7 separate regions of the Homo sapiens genome follow, and regions 1, 2, 3, 4, 5 and 6 are each linked to region 7. Evidence: promoter capture Hi-C in 16 types of primary human blood cells and fetal thymus (Javierre and others, 2016). All regions are on one chromosome and are shown on one strand. The core of a region is centred on a gene start or on the middle of the fragment in contact, and the rest is flanking DNA. Distances in the headings are between cores, read along the strand shown.

The links. Contacts are between HindIII fragments. The CHiCAGO score rates a contact against its expected background, and 5 or more counts as called.
Region 1: a fragment that was not itself captured here is called in contact with the fragment with the promoter of NEK9 in region 7 in 15 of 17 cell types (activated CD4 T cells, neutrophils, naive CD4 T cells and 12 more); the score reaches 12.7 in activated CD4 T cells.
Region 2: a contact is called between a fragment that was not itself captured here and the fragment with the promoter of NEK9 in region 7, in 10 of 17 cell types (monocytes, neutrophils, M0 macrophages and 7 more). The highest score is 23.0, in monocytes.
Region 3: a contact is called between a fragment that was not itself captured here and the fragment with the promoter of NEK9 in region 7, in 1 of 17 cell types (activated CD4 T cells). The highest score is 6.1, in activated CD4 T cells.
Region 4: a contact is called between a fragment that was not itself captured here and the fragment with the promoter of NEK9 in region 7, in 1 of 17 cell types (activated CD4 T cells). The highest score is 10.5, in activated CD4 T cells.
Region 5: a fragment that was not itself captured here is called in contact with the fragment with the promoter of NEK9 in region 7 in 17 of 17 cell types (activated CD4 T cells, neutrophils, M2 macrophages and 14 more); the score reaches 20.1 in activated CD4 T cells.
Region 6: a contact is called between a fragment that was not itself captured here and the fragment with the promoter of NEK9 in region 7, in 1 of 17 cell types (monocytes). The highest score is 8.2, in monocytes.

The regions. Positions count from the first base shown.
Region 1 is chr14:75,535,870-75,539,240 of GRCh38, reverse strand. The region is part of intron 2 of BATF (basic leucine zipper ATF-like transcription factor); the gene reads right to left. Among named protein-coding and RNA genes, the nearest start is that of BATF, 15 kb to the right of the region's middle. RefSeq lists enhancers at 1-36, 107-156 and a silencer at 387-601. The HindIII fragment of the contact is 5,692 bases long and covers 1-3,371 here.
Region 2 is chr14:75,437,468-75,440,692 of GRCh38, reverse strand. JDP2 (Jun dimerization protein 2) reads right to left here. Exons shown (of 4, transcript NM_001135048.2): 2 at 2,572-2,795. The coding sequence starts at 2,772. Among named protein-coding and RNA genes, the nearest start is that of JDP2, 11 kb to the right of the region's middle. RefSeq lists enhancers at 1-33, 188-397, 1,237-1,739, 2,747-3,225. The HindIII fragment of the contact is 3,402 bases long and covers 1-3,157 here.
Region 3 is chr14:75,590,977-75,594,487 of GRCh38, reverse strand. The region is part of intron 1 of FLVCR2 (FLVCR choline and putative heme transporter 2); the gene reads right to left. Among named protein-coding and RNA genes, the nearest start is that of FLVCR2-AS1, 13 kb to the right of the region's middle. The HindIII fragment of the contact is 2,694 bases long and covers 226-2,919 here.
Region 4 is chr14:75,635,299-75,638,704 of GRCh38, reverse strand. The region is part of intron 5 of FLVCR2 (FLVCR choline and putative heme transporter 2); the gene reads right to left. Among named protein-coding and RNA genes, the nearest start is that of ERG28, 24 kb to the left of the region's middle. The HindIII fragment of the contact is 538 bases long and covers 1,276-1,813 here.
Region 5 is chr14:75,555,993-75,559,167 of GRCh38, reverse strand. It overlaps LOC107984653 (a long non-coding RNA gene), which reads right to left and starts at 997. Exons shown (of 2, transcript XR_001750830.1): 1 at 962-997. The HindIII fragment of the contact is 4,794 bases long and covers 1-3,175 here.
Region 6 is chr14:75,616,926-75,620,212 of GRCh38, reverse strand. The region is part of intron 1 of FLVCR2 (FLVCR choline and putative heme transporter 2); the gene reads right to left. Among named protein-coding and RNA genes, the nearest start is that of FLVCR2-AS1, 39 kb to the right of the region's middle. The HindIII fragment of the contact is 2,327 bases long and covers 377-2,703 here.
Region 7 is chr14:75,125,325-75,128,864 of GRCh38, reverse strand. NEK9 (NIMA related kinase 9) reads left to right here and starts at 1,817. Exons shown (of 22, transcript NM_033116.6): 1 at 1,817-2,162. The coding sequence starts at 1,944. RefSeq lists enhancers at 1,764-1,893, 1,904-1,953. The HindIII fragment of the contact is 1,961 bases long and covers 720-2,680 here.

The DNA of each region.
Region 1 (3,371 bases), core at 859-3,358, 410 kb before region 7:
GGCTCGGCACCCATCTCACAGCCTAGAGAATGAAAGCCTCATACTGAGGATGGCTGCTTAGAGAGAAGGAGCTTGGTTCTTCCTTGCTGTAGCCTGGTCTCTCCACTTTTGAACTTCTTGTTACATGAGAAAAGTAGGCCATGATTTGTTGATTCCTCATTTGATGGCTGGTCTCTCACTTGTCTCTGAATGCATGCAATCTTGGCTGATACTGATGCTTCGAGTTACAAAGGTTACCACTAGCAAGATTATCAATGTTCAAAACCAAACAACAAAACAAATAATAACTGCCATCAAAGCAAGGGTTTGAATAGTTTGTTTGTTTGTTTGTTTGTTTTTTGAGACCGTGTCTCGCTCTGTCGCCCAGGCTGGAGTGCAGTGGCACGATCTCGGCTCATTGCAAGCTCCGCCTCCCGGGTTCATGCCATTCTCCTGCCTCAGCCTCCCTAGTAGCTGGGACTACGGGCACCCGCCACCATGCCCGGCTAATTTTTTGTATTTTTAGTAGAGACATGGTTTCACCGTGTTAGCCAGGATGGTCTCGATCTCCTGACCTCGTGATCCACCCGCCTCGGGCTCCCAAAGTGTTGGGATTACAGGCGTGAGCCACCGCACCTGGCCGTTTGTTTTGTTTTAAGCCATCAGGCCACTGTATGTGACAGAGTATCTGTGTACTTACCCACACAATTGCCCCACACTCACTCCACACATTCTGCTCACTCCACACATTCTACTCACTCCACATATTCAGGTACAGACCTGATAGGCTGCAAATGTACTGCTTCTGATTCTCAACCCTGGCTGTGCACACTGCCAGCACCCGGAGAGCCTTAAACAGTCTGGATTCCTGGATGCCAGACCCCCAGAGGTTCCAATTTAATTGTTCTGGAGTGGTTGCAGGCATCAAGACTTTAAAAATGCTTCCTAAGTGAGCCAAATGGGCAAAAAATCATGTTCATAGTGGATTCCTTTTAATAATAACATAAGGCCAGGTGCAGTTGCTGTAATCCTAGCACTTTGGGAGGCTTCTTTGGCAGGAGGGTCATTTGAGCCCGGAAGTTTGAGACCAGCCTGGGCAACATAGTGATACCCAATCTTTACAAAAAATTTAAAAGTTAACCAGGCATAGTGGCACACACCTGTAGTCCCAGCTATTTGGGAGGCCAAGGTGGGAGGATCATTTGTGCCTGGGAGGTGGAGGCTGCAGTCAGCCATGATCGCACCACTGCACTCCAGCCTGGGAAAAGAGTGAAACCTTATCTCAAAATAATAAAAATATAACATAACTATATAGTGTTTGATTTTATTAAATTTGTTTGTTAACAAACAAATTAAATTTGTGAGACTTGCCCAGTTGTGAAAGGCCAAGCCCCTGAAACTACTGATATCCTTAAAGAGTTTATATTTTTACATATTTTCATTTTATTAAATATGTATTTTATTTTATCATTTATAGTATAATATTAAAAAATTTAAAGAGTTGGGAGACTATTTCTAGTTAAAAAAATTTCTAAAACAAAATGTCCATTTAAGCACACTACTATTATATTCTTAAATTGGTGGAAACAATTCTAAATAGTCCAGCACAGTTCATTCATATAATGGAAAGGCAAGAGCTCAGGGATCTATTCGTGTTTCATTAATTATAACTTTAACCGTTTCGTTTCCTTACCATTTACATTGTTGAGCTCTGTGAGGGCAGGAGCTATTATTGTCTTCACTGTTTTGTTCTCAGTGACAAGGACAGTGCCTGCCATAGAGTAAGTGTTCGATCAAATCACGTTGCTTGACTGCCAACTTATAATCTGGAATAATTTTCCAAAATCTGAGATGTGCCTATGAAGAAGGGTCAGCTGAGTAAATCTGTGATGTCCATGAGAATTCCTAGAGAGTGATTAACCACCACTCAAACACTTTAATAGCTTCTACTTTGTAAATCTGGGATACTTCCAAATGAATCCAAGAGATTCATTTTTTCAAAAGGCCTAGGTCAAACCTCTGTTTATTCCCCAAACTGAACCAACAGCGTGGGAGTGGCAGAATTACAACCACTTTAAGAACTTCGTCGTGCCATTTCCCTAGTTCAAATTTGACCCTCTCTCCATTCATACCCAACAAAGGAGACTTGCCTAGTTGTGAAAGGCCAAGCCCCTGAAACTACTGATATCCTTAAAGAGTTTATAAGCAACCAGAAAGAAGAACGTGTGTGTTCATGTAGGATAATATATCTGATTGATTTCTAGGAAAAGGGCAGGCTGTCTGCATTAAACAAAGGAACAGTGTAAAAAAAAAATGACAATATTGCTTTGTTCTTACATTTGCCCTCTCAATTAAACGGTCAAACAGCCTAGTGAGGTGCTATTGCTTCTCAACTTATGATCAGAGTTTAGGTTCAGAGAAATCCCCCAGGCAGGGTTTGAATTAGTTGGGTCCCCACCACATGCCCCATCCAGTTCCTGCTCCTAGCAGCACAATTGCCTTTATTTTATTTTATTTTATTTTATTTTATTTTATTTTAAAGACAGGATCTTGCCCTGTTGCCCAGGCTGGAGTGCAGTGGTGCTATCACAACTCACTGCAACCTCGACCTCTTGGACTTAAGCAAATCTCCCGCCTCAGCCTCCCAAGTAGGTGGGACCATAGGTGCATGCCTGGATATTTAAAAAAAATTTTTTTTTGTAGAGATGGGGTTTCACTGTGTTGCTCAGGCTGGTCTCGAACTCCTGGCCTCAAATGATCCAACCAACTCGGCCTCCCAAAGTGCTGGGATTACAGGTGTGAGCCACTGTGCTCAGCCCTACAATTGCCATTATTACTGAGTTCCTCCTCACTCCCTTATGGTCTTGAACTTGGTCTCCACCTTACCAAGCACCTTTCTGACCTTTGCCTGGCCTCGCAGCTTGGCCTCAAGGCTCTCTAGGCTGAGATCACCCTCTCCCCAGATCTTTCCAGTCTCCTCTTTGATTCACCTTTGATCTCAAATTCCAGGGCCTCAGGAAGGCCTCCCCTGATCGCTGCCCCAATCCCGTCCCTTAGACACTTTCCACATTGCATGATTTCATCTTCTTTGAAGCACTTTACATGTCATGTGATTAGTGTGTTTATTTGTTTTCCAGCCTGACTTCCAACTGACTGTAAGGTTCGTGAAATCAGAGACTCTGTCTGTCCTGTCCCTGCAATATTCTCAGTGCCTAGAACGAACTGTTCCTGGCTGATAAATATTTGTTGAGTAGATGAATCACTTCCGCTGATCTCAGCTCTAGTACTGATAATATGGCCTTTGCTTTATAATTTTCTGTGTCATCCTACTCTCTTAATGATAAGACATATTCTTATGCCAGCTGAGTACCCTTTTTTAGTTACAGGGTCCT
Region 2 (3,225 bases), core at 207-2,706, 310 kb before region 7:
CTATCACTTCCCAGCAGTGTGACCCTGAGTGACTGAACCCCCTCCCTAGACCTCAAACTCTTCTCTACTATGGGGGTAACCTGGACTCCAGGACTGAATAAGGAATGAATGAAGTCATGCATGTTAAGCACTTTGTGCAGGTCCTGGGACATATTAAATGCTTAATGAGCTAGTATCTGATTATTATTAAAGAAACTTTTACTAGTCTAAAATGCCAATATGAAAATCCGCTCAAGGCAGTTTGCCATATGCAAATAGATCTTCAGACCATAGATTCTTCAGCTGCAAGTTTCTTTCCCCACCCCGCTTTAGGTTTTAGTTACTCCAAGAATTAGCTCTTCCCGCCCCTGGGGTCTGACCTAGGAAGCATTTGGAGGTCGGTTCGCAGTGCAGGGCTGGCATCTCTCTACATCGGTACAATCTCGCAGCTCCATCTGCCTCTTCGCCCCCACAACACTGCAGTCTGACAGCGAGGGAGAGGACATGCAAATATGCCCTAAAAACGGCTTGTTATTTTTGCGGCCTGGATGGTGCACGTCTGTGGGTGCCTGTGAGGACAGCACGTCACTGTCGGGTACAGGGCAGATGCCACCAATTTGGGGGTGGCTGTAAAATGTAAAAATACCCAACCCAAATAAAAGTGGCTTTTCCAAAAATAAAAAATAAAAAAAGGGAAGAGTTCCTCCAGTGCCTTTTGCAGAGGAGAGAGGTGTTAACTCAGCCCCCCAGGCGAATCCCAGCTTGACGACCTCTGCCCAAGACACCTGGCTCTTCATCAACCCCATGCGCAGCCTTAGTGCCCCCATGAAACTGCTCAGCTACTGGCTCTAAATGGCAATTTTACTGTGGAATGATCCAGAAACAGATGCTCTCAAGTTACAGACCTGGGAAGGTGAGGAGCAGAGGGCCAAAAGACAAGGACCCTCCATCGTGAAGACAGAACACTATATAAGCCGGGATGTGCCCCAACGACACATTGGCTTACAAGATCAATTCAGAAGAATGTAATCACCATCAACTCACAGCTTGTAATCCACAGTCTTTAGTAGGCACCTATGATGGACCTTATCCACGTGTCTTGAGCACAAATGGCTAACAGGGACCAGGCAGTAGAGGTAAATGAAGGCAGATGGTAGTAGCAAAAGCAAAACCAACAATGTAAGTAGGATCACGAATAACAGGGAGGTGCAGGGGCCTGTGGCCCACTGGAAAGAGGAAACAGTGAAGTGCCTCTGTCCACCCCACTTAGCCATTACCATGCCAGAACAGGGTAGTGTATGATGAGATCTTACAATTTTTTAATCAAAATTTTCAAATGAAATGGGGGTTCGCGTTTCTTTTAAAACACTGAGCCGGCCAAACAAAATACATCTGAGAGCCAGGTCCAGCCTGCAAATGGCCAGTTTGCCACCACGGCCAGTTTGCCACCACAGCCAAGCCCCCAGCAGTCCTCTGCAGTTTTTAGGTACCTATCAGGAGAAGGGGAGCTGAGAGATAGTTGCCTAATATCCCCAGCTCTCCCCTACGGGTACCCAGACACCCTTCTCCACGAAGAAAGTCCTCTCTCCAGCACTTCCAGCACTTCAGCCCTCCGAGCTCCCCCCAGGCTCATCTTTGCCTGTGAACTCTCCCTCCAAGCAGAGCTACCATTCCCAGATGCTCAGCTGCTTCCTGCGCCCTCCCGATCCCAGCCTCTTCCCCACCTCCCACCACAGGCTCCTCCTTTCCAGGGGGCAGCTACTCTGGCAGGCCTCTGAAGAAACGGCGCTGCTGGGAACCTTGCTGGGACAGGCCTTCAGAGAAACGGCCAGCCCTGGGCAAGTCGCCGGGGGCATGCCCTGCACAGATCCTCAGCCATGCCGGGGACTGCTGCTGCTCACCAGTGCCCCGAGAAAAAGGGCTCATGAGAGCTGCAGGTGCAAGGGACCTGAGGAGGAATTCCTTGCAAATGCCACATGTGGGTGCTCCACGTGTGGGTCCCGGGCAAACGCCATCTAAGGCGGACACTGCTGGCTGACCGAGGCCATGCCTAGCTCTGGCAGCTGCTTGGGAAGGGAGGCCACGCTACTCTTCCTCCAAGTTCCCTGGTTCAGCTGCAGAAAGGGCCAAGAGGGGTGGAGGTCACGATGTGACTAATGATAACAATTTTAAAAGATAACCTAATATTGGCATTCTCTTGTCTACTTTTCAAAACATGTACACATTCCCATTCCCATTATCTCCCCAATCCTCCCACCACCCCAGAGAGATGGCCAAGATATTACTATTCATTACTGTCATTATTATCACTCTTCCACCGCCCCCCAGAGAACCAGAGACAGGTTAAACATCCTCCCCTGGCCCAGTGCTTCTCAAGTGTTAATACGTCCACGAATCCCTGGGGGATCTTGTTAAGATGCAGATTCTGATACAGAAGGCCTGGGGCGAGGCCTGGGATTCCACATTTCTGATAACCCCAGGGTGGTACGGATGATACTGGTCCTCAGACCACACTTTGAACAGCAAGGTTAAGGTCCCATGGTGGGTTTAAGGCCAGACCTGGAATCTGCCAGGGGTAAAAGGCTCGCTCACCTCACTTTTCACGGGCTGGGGCCTCTTGCCCAGTTTCACCTCCAGGAAGTGCAAGGGTGCAATCATGGCCCCGAGGTTGCGGATGTCAGCGTATTTCAGCTCCTCCACAGTCAGGGCCGAGCTGGGGAGCCCGGTCAGGGGGCCAAGCCCTGGCAGGGAGCCTGTGGTCACCGAAGGGTCCGGGATCTGCCCAGGCATCATAGCAGGAGGAGTGGCAGGCCAGCCTGGAGTGGGCAGGAAAAGAGCAGGACAGTCAGCCAGGTTGGGGGCTCCAGGAGGGCTCAAGTCCCTCGTCTTGCCAGGACTGTGGCTTCTTTCACCAATGTTCCCCTGAATCCCTTTCCCACCCAGCTGCTCTTCCTGCCGTAAAGTCCTTCCTGTTATAGAGGAAAAGTTGCTCAATTAACTCACACCAAGGTCACCCTTGGCACTGCCAGAAGTGTCTGCCTTTTTTATTTTGAAGGCAATGCTTGACCCAATCATAGGCAACATGTATTCAGCCTTTGGTATGTGCCAGGCCCCATGGTAATCCTGCAGTCCCATTAGGCTGGATCAGAGGTCATTACACAGAGGAAGTAGCCAAGCTTAGAATGATAATTCGCTTAAGGTTGTACACAGTTAAAATTGGTGGAGCTGGGATTTCAATGGCAGCAT
Region 3 (3,511 bases), core at 323-2,822, 470 kb before region 7:
TGTGATAGTAGCATAAAACTGACTAAGACAGAAAATTGATACCATGAAGTAGTCTGATGCCATAACAAATACCTGAAAATGTGGAAGTGGTTTTTGAACTGGAAATGGGTAGAAGGTGGAAGAATTTGGAGGATCAGGAGAGAAAAGTCTGCCATGAATGGAGTATTAAGGGGAATTCTGGAGAGGGCTCAGATGAAAAAAGAACTTTAAGAAGAGCCTAAAGCTTCTCAGGGATTACTTAGGTGGTCCTAATCAGAATGTTGGTAGAAATATAGACAGTTATAGACAGTAAAGACCATTCTGATGAGGTGTCAGATGGAAATGAGGAACAAGGTATTGGAAACTGGAGTAAAAGCCATTCTTGTTATCTACTTGCAAAGAACTTGGCAGAATTCTGTCAGTGTCTTAGGAATTTGTGGAAGACAGAACTTAAGAGTGATGAACTAGGATATCTGGTGAAAGAAATTTCTAAGCAAAATATTGAAGGAGCTGTATTGCTACTTTGAAGCACATATAGTAAAACATGAGAGGAGAGAAATGACTAAAAGGTGGAATTAGTAATGAAAAAGAAAGCAGAGCAGAAAGATTTGGGAAATCTGAAGGCTGGCCATGTAGACTGAAAAAGTGTCCGTAGGAGAAAAACCAAGGGCGTGGCCAAGAAATCATTTGCTAAAAAAATTAGTAGACAGAAGGCAACCAGGCCTATTCATCAAGACAATGAGAGAAAAACCCTGAAGACATTTCAGAGATTGTCTAAGCAGGCTGGGGCCTTGAGGACAAGTGCTATGGTTCGGATATGATCTGAGTTTGTCCCCTCTTAAACTTATGTTGAAATTTTATCCCCAATGGGGTGGTGTTGGGAGGTGAGGCTTAGTGGGAGGCATTTGGATCATGGGGGAGGATCCTCCACCAGCTGATCTCATGGAAGCAGATTCTCACTCTCGCAAGACTAGATTAGTTCCTGCAGAAATGGGTGAGTTCCCATGATAGTGGGTTGTTTTAAAGCCAAGAGATCCCTTGGGTTTGCCTCTTTGCACGTGTCCACTTGCCCTTTAACCTTCTCTGTCATGTTATAATGTAGCATGAGAGCTACAACCCCCTGCAGGCTGCAGGCACGCCCTTGAATGTCCCAGCCTACAGAACAGTGAGGTAAATACACCTTTTCTTTATAAATGACCCAGTTTCAGGTATTCTGTTATAACAACACAAAATGATCTAAGACAGACAATTTGTACCAAGGAGTGGGGTTGTGCCATAAAGATACCTAAAAATGCAGAAGCAGCTTTGGAACTGGGTAACGGGCAGAAGTTGGAGGAGTTTGAAGAAATAGGCTAGAAAACACCTGAATTGCTGTGAACAGGGCATTAAGAGTAATTTTGATGAGGGCTCAGAAAAAGACAAAAAGATGAGGGAACGTTTGGAACTTCTCAGAGATTGGTTAGATGGTTATGACCAAAATGCTGATAGAAATATGGACAGTAAAGGCCATTCTGATGAAGGAAAGTAGCGTTTATTTGGAAACTAGAACAAAGGTCACCCATGTTATGCCACAGCAAAGAACTTGGCTGCATTGTGTCCATGCCTTAGGGCTTTATAAAATACCAAACTTAAAAATGATAACCTAGGGCATCTGGCAGGAGAAATTTCTTTTTTTTTTTCTTTTTAAAGGTGGGGTTTCACCATGTTGGCCAGGCTAGTCTCGAACTCCTGACCTCAGGTGATCCGCCCACCTCGGCCTCCCAAAGTGCTGTGATTACAGGCATGAGCCACCATGCCCGGCCTAGGCAGAAAAATTTCTAAGCAGCAAAATGCTCAAGACACAGTGTGGTTACTTTGACAGCTTAAACACAGCAAAGGAGTGACCTAAAGGTGAAATGTGTAAGAAGCAGAGCATTAAAATTTAGAAAATTTGCAGCCTGGCCAAGTGGTAGAGAATGAAAGAACATTTTCAGAAGAGGAATCTAAGGGTGCAGCCAAGGGACCTTTTGCTAAAGAGATTAGTTCTGACAGAAGGGAGCCAGGTACTAACAGAACAATGGAAAAAAGGCCCTGAAAGTATTTCAAAAGTCTAAGGCCATTCCTCCTGTCACAGACCCAGAGGCCTAGGAGGACAGAATGGTGGGATACCACTGCCCTGAGCCACCTCAGGATGCTTCTCCTAGCTGCTCTGGCCAGAGCAGCCATGGCCCAATAGCCCCAGGTACAGCTTGGGCCACTGCTCTGGAGAGTGCAAGCTGTGGGTCTTGGTGGCATCCATGTCCACATGGTACTATTGTTCATGCATGTGGAATGCAAGAGTGGTGGGCATGGCAGCTTCCACCTAGATTTCAGATGATGTATCAGCAAGCCTGGGAGCAGGCCAGGCACAGTGGCTCATGCTTGAAATCCCAACTCTTTAGGAGGATGAGGTGGGTGGATCACTTGAGTTCAGGAGTTCAAGAACAGCCTGGGCAAAATGGCAAGACCTCATCTCTACAAAACAAAAACAAAAACAAAAAAGAAACAAAATTAACCAGGTGCAGTGGTGCATGCCTGTAGTCCCAGCTACTTGGGAGGCTGAGGCTGGAAGATTGATTGAGCCTCAGAGGTCAAGGTACAGTGAGCTGTGATCACACCACTGCACTCCAGCCTGGGTGACAGAGTAAGACCCTTTGTCAAAAAAAAAAAAAAAAAAAAAAAAAGGAATGAAGAGAAAAAGAGAGCCTGGGAGCCTAGGCAGAAACCTGCCATGTGGGGGAGCCACCACAGACAGCCTCTGCTAAGACAATGCCAAGCAGAAATGTGAGGCCACAGCAGAGGACTCTTCTGCAAAGAGTCTTCACTAGGACAATGCCTAGTGGAGCCACAAGAGTAGGGCCACCGCAAGGACCCCAAAATGCTAAAGTCACTGGCAGCATGTGACCTCAGCCTGGCTAAGCTTCAGGCATTTGATTCCAACCTGTGAGTACAGCCATGTGGGCTATGTCCAGCAAAGCCATGTGATTCCAACCTGTGAGTACAGCCATGTGGGCTATGTCCAGCAAAGCCATGGGGAAAGGGCTGCCTGAGGCATTGGGAACCCCCTCCTGGCACTAGTGTGCCCAGGATGCAAAACATTGATCCAAAGGAGATTATTCTGGAGGTTTAAGATTTAAAGTCTGCTGGCCAGGGCTTGGTGTGGCTCATGCCTGTAATCCAGGCACTCTGAGAGGCCAAGGTGGTAGGATCACTAGAGTGCAGGCATTCGAGACCACTATGGGCAACATGGCGAAACTCCGTCTCTACAAAAAAATACAAAAATTACTGGGTGTGGTGACATGGCCTGTGGTTCCAGCTACTTGGCAGGCTGAGGTGGGAGGATCACTTGTGCCCAGGTGGCAGAAATTGCAGTGAGCCAAGAACTCACCACAGCAGTCCAGCCTGGGTGAAAGAGCAAGACCCTATGTTTGAATGGTAATTTTACCCAATGCCTGTGCAACCGTTGTATATTGGAAGTAAACAACTTGTTTTAGAGTTTATAAGCTCATACCTG
Region 4 (3,406 bases), core at 295-2,794, 510 kb before region 7:
GACAAGAAGGGCAAAGCCCTTTCTCCTTCTCCCATCCCTCACCAGAAAAAAGAAAAAACAGGACAAACATCAGCCATGATGAGGTGGCGGTGACATTCAGGACTACCCCAGAAGCTGTCCAATTCTGCTTGTCTGCTTTATCCCAAGACCCATGACAATGCTGGGCAATGTGCTCTGTCACCTACAAGTTCTTCCTGTCCCTACTTGAACAGACCAACAGACCCAGCAAAGCTTTTTCTTTTCTTTTTTTTCTTTTGTCCTTTTTTTGAGATGGAGTTTCGCTCTTGTCGCACAGGCTGGGGTGCAGTGGCGTGATCTCAGCTCACTGCAACCTCTGCCTCCCGGGTTCAAGCGATTCTTCTGCCTCAGCCTCCCAAGTAGCTGAGATTACAGGCATGCGCCACCATACGTGGCTAATTTTTTGTATTTCTAGTAGAGATGGGGTTTCGCCATGTTGGCCAGGCTGGTCTCAAACTCCTGACCTCAGGTGATCTGCCCGCCTTGGCCTCCCAAAGTGTTCTAATTAGAGGTGTGAGCCACTGCGCCTGGCCCAGCAAAGCTTTTTCTGTTGAGTCTGAACTACTCCACTCCAGAGAGCAGGAACTAAGAGAGAATATTCTCTCAGCCTGAACTGAGTGCTTGACTTCCAAAGCCAATGTGAGAAACCTTCTCTATCTTCGCCCACTCCCTGTTACATTTCCCTGTGTCGATCCCCTCAGGAGTACCATCAGCAAGTCTTGGTTTCTATTTCAGTCTCACCCCCTCCTGTGCCCCTCCAGCAGTTCTCTTCCCATGTTGCCCACCTAGGACTCTGATGCAGCCCCGACTCCTGCAATTCGACCTGCATTCTTCTCCCTGCACTACCTAAGGCAGGGCATAGGCACTGCACATCCCTCTGCCCCCCTACCATGAACATCAGGACTCAGATGATGAAAGCTTTAAAGCTTTTCTTTTCTTTCTTTTTTTTTTTTTTTTTGAGATGGAGTCTTGCTCTGTCACCCAGGCTGGAGTGCAGTGGCACGATCTCTGCTCACTGCAAGCTCCGCCTCCCAGGTTCACCATTCTCCTGCCTCAGCCTCCCAAGCAGCTGGGACTACAGGGGCCCGCCACCACGCCTGGCTAATGTTTTTTGTAGTTTGTTTAGTAGAGACAGGGTTTCACTGTGTTAGCCAGGGTGGTCTCGATCTCCTGACCTCATGATCTGCCCGCCTCCGCCTCCCAAAGTGCTGGGATTACAGGCGTGAGCCACCGCACCTGGCCAAAATCTTTAAAGCTTTTCTTTACACATCACCCCTGAAGCCAGAATCATGGTGGAGGCACCAAATGGCACGCTACGGTTGTGTCAAACGAAACCCTCCATCTCTTGAGTGCCAGATTCTGTGAAGCACTTCACATGCATTTATTATTTCAATTCAACCTTTACAAAAATCCTGTAAGAAATATCTGATGATTTCTCATTTTACCAATGAAGAAACTGAAGCTCAGGCCACTCAAGTTACTTGTCCAAAGTCACCAGCTGAATAAATGCAGAGCTGAGATGTGAACTCAAAGCTGGATTTGAAACCTGTGTCCCTTCTGCTACTGCATGCGGGAATAACGATGCACTATGTGGTTGCATCTTTGGAAAAGCTCAAGGTCAGAGTCTCCAAAGGATGCTGCTCCCACCTGGTGCTTCAAAGCAGCTGCTAAGGGTAGAGGAGCTTCCTCCTCCCTTCACGCTCCTCCCTCACACTCTTCCTACCAACTCTGCTGAAAGCAACGTCATGGACGCCAGTCTTGCCCGATGATCCCACAAGCTCACCAGGATGAAGCTTTAACCATAGCTTCATCCTAAACCACTGACCAGTTTAGAAAAACTATTTGTAGTCCCAGTCTGAGATAAACAGACCTCACCACCCAATTTCCAACCTCCAAACAAAACTAGACAAATCTGGGAGCCTTAGAGTGACGAGGACTGGCTCCGAAATGATGGGATCACAGAGCTCTCATCCCACTGGGAGTTGCCTTTTCTCTGCCTGGGTAGTGGCACAGGGAGAAAAATATCTTGTGCTGACCACTGGATTTAGACATCACGTGATGCTAGGAACTGGTGACATCTAGGTTCTGAAGAGGGCTGAGAAAGTGTTCTTCCCAGTCCTCTCATTATCTTTTCTAATTCATCTGAATCATCCGGCTGCCCATGTCCCAGCCCAGCCAGCATTCCCATCCCTCCCTCCTCCTGCCGCAGAGCAAGCCCCGGAAAAAGGGTCACTGCTATTCAGTGGTTTGGGGATGGCCAGTCCTCACTGCTCTTGTGTCTGGCTGAAGCAAGCAACTAACAGATGGCAGCGATGAGATGGCAGCCAAGCCCCGCCAGCAGTAATTAAGCCGAGCCAGGCTCCTCGTCGCCACCTCCCTAGGGATGGTCTCAATTGGCCTTTGATTAGGGCAGCCAGAATGAGACCTGGTCTGACCAGGGCCTCACAGAAGCGGGTTTGTGTGGCAGAGAACAGGTCTGCCACTGTCTGTTGCCTGCAGACACTGGGAACTTTGGAGGCCTTGACAGAGCAGCCGGGGACACTGCTCTGCCCCGGTACAGTACAGCCCAACAGCTGCCCCGCCAGCCAGTGCTAACTGAGTACCCAGTGAACGGGGAGCACTGGAAAATCACAAGGGAAGGATGTTGGGCTGCTGTTCGCCAGAGGATTTTCTCCAAGGCCAGCTGCTGAATGGAGGCACCCAGGCTGCTTTCTACAAATGCAGATTCTTCTGCTGATTTGGCATCCATGGGGCGGGTAGTGGCCTGGCATTCACTAAAACCTTTTAATTTTTTTTTAACCCATGTGCACACCGATAAAACATTTTCTTTTCTTTTTTTTCTTGAGCCAGGCTGGAGTGCAGTGGCGTGAACCCAGTTCACAGCAACCTCCACCTCCTGGGTCAAGCGATCCTTCTACCTCAGCCTCCCAAATAGCTGGGACTTCAGGTGTGTGCCACTATGCCTAGCTAATTTTTGTATTTTTTGTAGAGATGGGGTTTCACCATGTTGCCCAGGCTGGTTTTGAGCTCCTAGACTCAAGCAATCCTCCTGCCTCGGCCTCCCAAAGTGCTGGGATTACAGATGTGAGTCACTGCGCCCAGCCTGATAAAACCTTTTAAAATAGCTCCAGGCTCTTAGAAATGCACTGGGCATTCAGGTCCAAAGTAAGTTATAATATTTACCAACAAGGTATAAATAATTGCACAATAATATACACTGCAAACTGGAGAAAGCTCAGAGTACCTTGGTCAACCCCATGGGGTCCACAAGGTGCCATGAGAACAGGAGAGTGAAATCACCTCCTCCTCATCTCCACTCTTTGGGGTTTCCACAAATTTTCCACCGCTGAGATTTTTTTTCCCCATTCATTTTCATTTCTCCCTCCTC
Region 5 (3,175 bases), core at 389-2,888, 430 kb before region 7:
GAGAAGAAATGGATTCTGGGTAGCAAAAAAAAAAGTGTGTGGGGGTCACTGTAATCAGGTGCATCTCAGCTCTAGGTCACAATTCCGTGACATCTTGCCTTCAGCCCCAGGTTTTAGACCCAGACAGAACTAGATCCCCATTATAGTAGTGCAGTGACCTTCCTGAGGCCACCAGATCATCCCAGTCAGTCCTGCTTCCTGGGCATTTAGGGCTCTTATGGACTTGTTCCCCCACCCCCTGGGGATAAACAATGAGACACAAACCTTTGAGGGAGCCATAGGTAATTTAGTCACAGTCCAAACTCAAAATTCTCAACCTGAAGTAGACAAGGCTTGAGAATATATGAATGAATGAATTATTTATATTTATGATTAATTAATTCATTTATCAAACCTATAAATATCACATATCTGCTCTGCTGGGCACTAGGAATATAGCAGTAAACAAGACACAGATAGTCTCTGCCCTCACTCATGGGTTAGTGAATGGCCTATCTGGACAGCCATTTAACTGTCCACCATGAGTCACCACTGGGGGTTTTGGGCACGATGTAAGTAGATATCTGGTCTCTGTCATCTTCTCTCAATGATTGCTGTGGTTTAAATGTCTCCTCCAAAACTCGTGTTGAAATTTAATTGCCATTGTAACAGAGTTGAGAAGCGGGGCCTTTAAGAAGTGATTCGGTCATGAGGACAGAGCCCTCATGGATTAATGGGTCCCTCGATTAATGTCATTGTCACAGAAGCGGGTTTATCTTTGGAGTGGGTTCCCAATAAAAAAGACGAGTTTGGCTCACTTCCCTTTCTGTCTCATGTGCTTGCTTCCACCTTCCACCCTTCTGCCATGGGATAACACTTGCCAGATGCTGGCGCCATGCTCTTGGATTTCCCAGCCTCCAGAACTATGAGAAATAATTTTTTTTCCCTACAAATTACCCAAGCTGGGCATGGTGATTCACACCTGTAATCCCAGCAACTCAGGAGGCTGAGGCAGGAGGATCACTTGAGGTTAGGAGTTCAACACTAGCCTGGGCAATGTAGTGAAACTTCATCTCTAAAAAAAAAAAAAAAAATTTAATTAGCTGGGTGTGGTGGCATGTGTAGTCCCAGTTACTTGGAAGGCTGAGGAAGGAGGATCCCTTGAGCCCAGGAGTTCGAGGCTGCAGTGAGTTATAATCATGCCACTGCACTCCAGGCTGGGTGACAAAGTGAAACTCTCTCTCTCTGCTCCCTGAATTTCAGCACAGTGCCTCTCAGCCCTCCCAGCTGTGGCTCAAGCAGCCTGGGTGCTCCAGAAAGAATAGGTGGTAAACCTTGATGGCAAACATTTGGTGTTAAGTCTGCAAGGATGCAAAATGCAAGGGCTATAGAAGCATGGCTTCCTCTGCTTAGATTTCAAAGGATGTCATGGATCACCTGGAAGCTCAAGTAGAAATCTGCTTCAGGGGAACGGTCACCTCAGAGAGTCCCCACTAGGGCAATCCCAAGTGAAAATGTGGGGTTGGAGCCACTTCGGTTTGAATGTGCCCTCCAAAACTCATACTGAAATTTAATTGCCATTGAAACAGTGTTGAGAGGCAGGACCTTTAAGAGGTGATTAGCTCATGAGGGCTCCACTCTCATGAATAGATTAACGCCATTATCACAGGAATGAGTTGGTTGTTGCAGGAGTGGGTTCCTGATAAAAAGGTGGAGTTTGGTCTGCTCCCCTCTCTGTCTCATGTGCTCACTTCTGCCTTCCACCCTTCTGCCATGGGATGACCCTGGCCAGATACTGGTGCCATGCTCTTGGACTGGCCAGCCTCCAGAGTTGTGAGAAATAAATTTCATTTCTTTGTAAATTACTGAGTCTGTGGTATTCAATTACAGCAGTACGTAGGTTGTGTTCGTGTTTGTAGGGTGTAGAGGCATGAACCACCAGCAAGGCAGGCCAACCAGCTTCCATTACCATGGAAGCAGGATTTGGAGTAATAGAAAATAGGCGATGAGGGTGGACTGGGGCTAATCTATTTCTACAGGGCCTTGTGCAGGATTCCAACTTGCTTTTACTTTGATCCTGGTCTTTCCCTCTGTCTAATAGGTGACAGCTAGACACAGACTAAAAGCTAGATAACACTGTGACTGAGGAGACACAGTTCCCTGCCCTCGCCTCTTCCAGCCCCACCTGGGACTCTATCCCTAATCTCTACCATCTTCACAAGAATACATGCCTTCCCTTGATTCCTGCTCTTAAAATATCTGATTGATTCTTACTTTTTATATGTTAACTGAATATTTATTTTGTCATTTGTATTCCATCGTCAGAATAATAATTGGCTTGGATTTTACATTCCTAGAAGGCAGGCACTGTGTTCCATCCATCCATCCATTTATTCATTCAGCCAATGAATATTTATTGAATTTCTACTCTGTGGTAGGCTCTTTGCTACTGTGCAAGGAGCTGAGAATACAATGGTGAGCAAAACATTGGCAATCCCTGACATTATAGAATGGATGGTCCAGTCACAGAGACAAATGTTAACCAAATAACCACATAGATAAATGTAAATTTTCAGTCTGTGTTAATGGGTATAAAGGAAGGGCATGAGGTGCTATGAAACTATTTGAAATTGCAGTTCTGATCTAGCCTGGGAATCAAGCAAAATTTCCCCAAGCTGGTATTTGACAAAAGGTAGGAATGAATGAGCTAGAAGGGTAAGAGCATTTCAGTTAGGGCTGAGCAGAATGAGCAAGGCTCTTGGGCTGGAGGGAGCACGCAGAGATTTGGGGAAGGGACAGATGCCAGTGCAGAGGAAAAGAGGGTGATATGAAGTGAGCTGGGGGACAGAGGGTGCAAGGTCTCCAGCGCCCCCACTAAGAATTGAGTCTTCATCATATAATCACCCCGAGTAACTCATAAACCCCAATCACACTGTGCACCAGTAGTCAATGGATAACATTTTATGTGAATAATGCTGACTTCACTTAGAGAAGATGTGCTAATGGTGGTTGGGGTGGAGAGGATTGACGTGGTGCTAATGTGACTCGCAATCTAATTTCACAGCTCCCATGGCCCAGATATGAAGAGCTGATCCCTAGGAATGGGTACCTATGTGTATGGCTGCAAGTTGAAAGATGATTGGCAAAGTTTAGTATCAGTATCTTCACATGCCACAAGATAGAGAAAGAAGATAAG
Region 6 (3,287 bases), core at 291-2,790, 490 kb before region 7:
TCTTCAAGACTTTAATTGAAGGTAGAAACCAGCCACAAGCAGAGGGGCAAATGCAACCTTCTTCATAGCTGGGAAGCTGGGCCCACTCCAGCTCATATATGGCCTTCTAAGCACTTTGGAGTTGGAGGTCTGGAAGTTAAGTAGAATCTCCCAGGGTCCCATTTGCAAGAGTGAGGAAAGATACAGACATCATCTGAGGCTCTGTGACTCTTTCATTTCCAAAGGAAAATTAAAGCTCTGAGGTCCCAACACAGGATATCTTAATTCTCAGTTAATCTTCTGCCCCATTAAAGAAATCCTCCCAGCTGGTGCTACACTGTATGCCCTCCTCCTCTGGGGCAGCTGGACTCTGTTCATTCCATCTATACACCAAGCTTGAGTGAGTGCTGTTCCACCCCAACTCCGGCTTTTAAGCCTTCTCCAGGCAGCAGGTTGGATGGGTGGGCCTTAGCAGTGGCCTACAGTAACCCCAGCTGGGCAGCAACACTGTCTCATGGTAACCTTTCTCAAGGAGGAAATTGGCTATGGAGGTACATTTATGCCCAGTGTGGAAAACCAAAACATCAGGATTAGACTGTAAGCTGCTTCCTCTTTTGTTTTTTCAATACATATTTTTTTCCTGCTTCTTAAGAGCAGTGTTTAGGGAGAGTCTATTTCTAGTTCCTAGTATATAGGTCTGTTCCATAGTCATGATGGATGGATGGATGGATGGATGGATGGATGGATGGATGGATGAGCAGATGAACGTTGGTGGAAAATCCTGTCTACACAAAGCTAGGAATGACACATCTCTCTATTAAGGTCCAGGTTCTTTCTACATTGTACTCACAGTGGTAAGAAAAAAAAATGTGTATGGGAAAGTAAGGAGAGGGTAGGATACCCTAGTGTATCTTGAGCATCTACTATGCGCCGAATATGTAATACACTTTATCTTTTCATTTAACCCCAATAACTTTATTTATTTTTAATTAATTATTATTATTTTCTGAGACGGGGTCTCACTCTGTCACCAGGACGGAGTGCAGTGGCATGATCTCAGTTCACTGCAACCTCTGCCGCCTCCCAGGTTCAAGTGATTCTCCTACCTCAGCCTCCCAAGTAGCTGGGATTACAGGTGCCCACCAACATGCCTGGCTAATTTTTGTATTTTTAGTAGAGACAGGGTTTCCCCATGTTGGCCAGGTTGGTCTCAAACTCCTGACCTCAAGTGATCTGCCCGCCTCGGCCTCCCAAAGCGCTGGGATTACAGGCGTGAGCCACTGCACCCAGCCTATCGCCAATAACTTTGTAACAACAAAAAAGAGAGAGGGCAAAAAAAAAAAAAAAACCCTGCTGCTCAGCACCCTGCCCAGGGTCACACAGGCAGCTAGCAGAGGAGCTGGGCTCCTAAGCCAGTTCTGTCTGATGTCAGAACCCAGGCTCACTTTGCTGCCTTCCATGAAATGTTGGTGTGATACTAGTCAACACGGAAGTCTACATTTTCACCCATTTGGGTTGTCATTCATTTGACAGGAAACCTCTGGGGTACAAATCAGAGACCTGGGGCCTGAATCAGTGAAACATTAATTTAAAATGTGGGAGAACGGGGCACATGGAGCATTTGGCATCTTTCCTGGAGACCCACCTTGGGAAGGCAAATGAATGAATGTCACTGCTAACTGGTTTTGAGTTGACTTACATCCCTGCACTTGTTCTAGTTTTATCATTCTCAACAAAACACAAAGTCATGGGCAAAATACAAAATTCATGGTCAAACCAAGTCATAGTCTTAGCTCTTCTGGAACATACTTTTCAAAATTAGGCTCTCTTCATTTTTACCCATCCCATAGCAGTATTTCCCAAACTTGTCCCATAACAAACGTCACCAGTACCAACCCCGTTTTTATCCCTCAGGTCTGAGGTGGGTCCTAGGTACCTGTATTTTCATATGCAGGCATCCCCATCTTCATCAAGGGAGTTGGGGAGATACTGGCCTCTGAAAAAGTATGACTCATGCCTCCTAATAGCTTCCATGCAGCTCTGCTCCTAGCTATTTTCCATGATAGCCAGCCATCTTTGGAAAACGTCCTGCTTAACACCCTGCAGTGACTTCTCCTTGCTTTAAATTAGAGGTAAAAATCCTAAGCACAGCCCACAAGGTTCTGCACATGGGCTCTGTCTAATGGTCTGACCCTTGTCACCAGCTTGTTCCTCAGGACTTTGCTACACTGAGCTCCTTTCTGTCTTTCAAGTGACCATGGGGAGTTTGCACCAGCTCCTCTACCTGGACTAGAATCTCTCTCTGCCCTGTTTCAGCTAGTCAATGCAGATATCCTTCAGGTCTGAGTGCAAATCCTGCTTCCTCAGGAAGGTTGCTCTAATCCCTTACATGAGGTTGGGTTCCTGCATAGGTAATTTTATATTTGTATGATCATTTAATTAACATCTGTCTTCCCAACCAGATTATAAGCTCCATGAGGGCAGGGCTCACACTGATCTCTGCAGGCTGGCACATGATAATACTCATCATAGTAAAATGTATGAGCTTTATGCAGAGTATCTCAAGCCTCACAACAACCCCAGAAAGAGGGGTCTAACATCGTCCCAATTTTACAGATGATGAAGCTGAGATGCAGGAAGGCTAACTGACTTGCTCAAGGTCACACAGCTATAGGTAGCAAAGCTAGAGTTTTCAACATACAGTATTTCAAAGTTAGGTAAGCTTTACAACTATAGTTTACTTCATCCCAATAGAGGGTGTTTAACAAAAAATGTGATGAATGAAGGGATGGAGAGGCAGCCTGGGATATTTAATTTTCATTTTCTATTTTATTTTCACCCTTTCTGCAAACTCAAAGGTGACCTCTAAATGCTACTGTAATGTCAGTAATCAGGAACGTTTCCAGAGCAAATGTCACAGTTAAAAACATGTCTATGTCGTCTGAGGGCCCTAGGTGACAGGGAGAAGCCATACTTTGAATGATGTCTCACTTGTGATTCTAGCTCATGCATTTGGCAGAGCAAGAATAAAACCAGAAAATCATCAGGCTGCGTCTGGGGTAAGATTTCCATACCCAACCCATTACACAACACAACACACATGCTATGCCAGCTCTGAGATCCACAGAACCACTGTTTCCCATCCTCTTCCACCATCCACTGTCCCCACCCACCATTCACAAAGCCCTAAGTCACAATTGAATCAGAACCCTAGCACACAGATGCCCTCCTAAATCCTACCTAGTCATGGGGCCAGAATATGGCCAGGCCATCCAGGGAGGATCCAAGAGCTTCCCCAAAAGGCAAGG
Region 7 (3,540 bases), core at 568-3,067:
TGGACAGATGCCACTCCTAAATGCCTCTCTAGAATCTTGCACTTTAATAGCCCTTATAGAAACTGTTTTAATTGCCTGGTGGTTTTCTGTTACATGTAAGCTCTCTTAAAGTAGGAACTTTTCACAAATCGATATGACACAATGTATTTTTATGTATTTGAGACAGGTTCTCACTCTGTTGCCCAGGCTCGAGTGCAGTGGCATGATCTTGGCTCACCGCAACCTCCGCCTCCCCAGTTCAAGCAATTCTTGTGCCTCAGCGTCCCAAGTAGCTGGGATTACAGGTGTGTGCACGCCTGGCTAATTTTTGTATTTTTAGTGGACACGGGGTTTCACCATGTTGGCCAGGCTGAACTCGAACTCCAGGCTTCAAGTGATCGGCCCTCCCAAAGTGCTGGGATTACAAGTGTGAGCCACCACGCCCGGCTAGGCACATGGCTTTCTCTTAGCCCCATCACATCCTGCTTTTTCAGATTGCTGGGTTCAACTTCCCAGCTCCCTCTTACTAGGTCTGTCACATTAAGCAGGTTACTTAGGTACCTCTGTTTCTGTAAAATGGGAATGTTAGGATAATACATAATACATAATACATAGGATAATACATAATAATGTGAGATAATACGTAAAAAACCTTTAGCATAGTACCCAGAACATAACACTCAATAAATGTTAGCTGTTATGTCTGTGATGTAGACCACATTCTCACAACAAAACAAGCTTGGAGATGAGAAGTTGCCCAAGGTCACATAATTGCCCAAGGTCACATAACTGATGGAACACCTATTGTTCACCGTATTGCTGTTTTCCTACTTGACGGTAGGGAGAACATTATTGCAGATTTCCTGTTCCCAAACAGTGTGTGGCACCAAGTGCTCAAAGAATGTTTCATGATATCATATGGTCAAATATCTGGAAAAACACATAGAATAAATTGAATCTGGAAAAAGAGACGGGGGAGAAGGAAAGTGTCAGGAGAGTTGACTTAAAATATTTTTGGAGTTGTGTAGAAGAGGGAGGGACTTAGGATGGCCCTGGGAGAAAGAACTCGGCCCAGGGACCGAGATGACCGGAGGCAGACATTTAGGCTGTCTATATTATTATTATTTTTTTTTTTTTTGAGACAAAGTCTCGCTCTGTTATCCAGGCTGGAGTGTAGTGCGCGATCTCGGCTCGCTGCAACCTCCTCCTTCCGGGTTCAAGTGATTCACCTGCCTCAGCCTCTGGAGTAGCTGGGATTACAGGTGCCTGCCACCACGCCTGGCTAATTTTTGTATTTTATAGAGACGGGGTTTCACCAGTTGGTCAGGCTGGTCTCAAACGCCTGACCTCAGGTGATCCGCCCGCCTCGGCTTCCTAACATGCTGAGATTACAGGCGTGAGCCACCTTGCCCGGCCATATTATCTTTACTATACTATCTCTCTAAAAAAGAATGCTGTCCAACGTTGGAATGGGGAAGAAGGTGTACACTGGGAATGCTTCCCCAATCACCCTCTTGTCACAGACCTGACGTCAAGATGAGACTGGACGACCTCTGGGCCTCCAAGTTGTATGAGTCCGGACCGGGGAGGCAGAGAAGGGTCAATAGACCCGAGAGGCCGTACCGTCAGTGATGCCCTTGTTCCCGTGGGAGCCCTTCGGTTCCACGCGGTTCCCACCACGCGCCCGCCAACCCTAGCCCGAGGCCTCACTTTGCAGGCCTTCCCCGAAAGCGGGAAGCCTTGGCCGCTAGACTAGCCAAGAGGGTAAGCAAAGGCGGAGGAAACTCAGCCAGGCCGGAAACACAGAGAACTGTTTCCGGGTCGGGGGGCAGGAGCCACCATCGAGCTTCGCGGGGTTGCTGGGCTGACGGATCCGCGGGCCGGCATCTGAAGCGAGCGGGACGCAGCGCGGCCAGGGCCTCCGGGCATACGCAGGCTGGTCCCCAAGGCCCGCGGCCGCCGCCATGTCGGTGCTGGGCGAGTACGAGCGACACTGCGATTCCATCAACTCGGACTTTGGGAGCGAGTCCGGGGGTTGCGGGGACTCGAGTCCGGGGCCTAGCGCCAGTCAGGGGCCGCGAGCCGGCGGCGGCGCGGCGGAGCAGGAGGAACTGCACTACATCCCCATCCGCGTCCTGGGCCGCGGCGCCTTCGGGGAAGCCACGCTGTACCGCCGCACCGAGGTAGCGGCCCTCGGCGCCGGCCGCCCTGTCTGGCGCTGTCGGGTCGCCCCGAGTCCCTCCTTCTCGGCCCCGCTTTCCCAGCGTCGTGAGCTTAGTGCTTTAGGCGCCCACGGGGTATATGTCTTAGGGTCTTCACCACTCTTCCCACTCACCGGCACTAGAAATTGGCTAGATCATTGGTTTGACTAGTCATTTTTGATTGTCCTAAGTCACCTAACCGTCTCTTGAGCTTTAGTTTCCCCATCTGTAAAATGGGCTTACTGATAATACCTTGAAATCATCTTTTTCTTTTTTTTTTAAGATTATCTTGAGAATCAAACGAAGGCTCTGTTCTGTAAATTAAAGTGGTATACGAATGTGAGGTATTGCCAAAACTTCCTTCCTCTCATGCTGTATATATAGTTCTCCAAGGTCGGGGTGAGGAGGAGGGGCATAGCTTCAAAATCCCCACACCCGTGGCAACTCCGTTATTTTTGTCATTATCTTTAAGTTCAGCAGTGATCACTCAGTTGGAAGCTTTTCTTGAAGCTCATTGGGAAGATCTTTGTGTGTTGGTTCTTTATCAGTGTTTATCTTGCAGGGTTTATGCATGGGAAATACTTTGTTGGTATATTCTAAGCCATTAGTTCTTAATTTGGGGGGCACAAGGACCCCTTTGATAACCTAAGCAAAGTAATCTTGCCCCCTCCATCAACACATTTGCACATATGCACATCCTTTGGAGAGATCCATGGATCACGGAATCCCAAGTTAATATATACTAGTGTAAAACCCTGCAGTGATTATTCTACTTCCAAAAACTAACGATACACTAGATTTGATCATAAAATCTTACTTTAGGGTAAACATTTAATGAGAACTTGCTGGGGTTGCTGAAGGTGATTCATCCGTCGGAAATCCATCTGCAGTTCTGGTGTGTGTTCCAAGCCAGCATACTTTTAAGGCTGAAAGATGGAGAAGGAGAGAAGTGGTTGCAAGAGAATATTTTTAAGTGTTCTTTTTTATCCTGATGCCACGTTAATGTATGATGTTAGAGTTAGTTATTCTTAGTAGTCTGTTTTCTTTTTTGCACTCAAAATGAGAAAGAGGAGATAAGGATTGTTATTTCTATATTTTAGTTAGAGAAACTAAAACAGTATACTTAAGTGACTTGCTCACTTAAGTTACAAGTAAATCTTGGACTAGAACTAAAGTCTCACATCTTGCCCATTGCCTTTTTATTATTATCCTGTTGAACTTGATTACTGGGTTGGTTTTGAGTTAAATTTGATTACACTTCCCAAAAATTGCATAGCGTTGTCCATATCACCAAATATTTATTAGATCTGTGAATTTACAAAAGTTCAGAAGCACTCTTTTTCTCTAGAAGCTTATATTT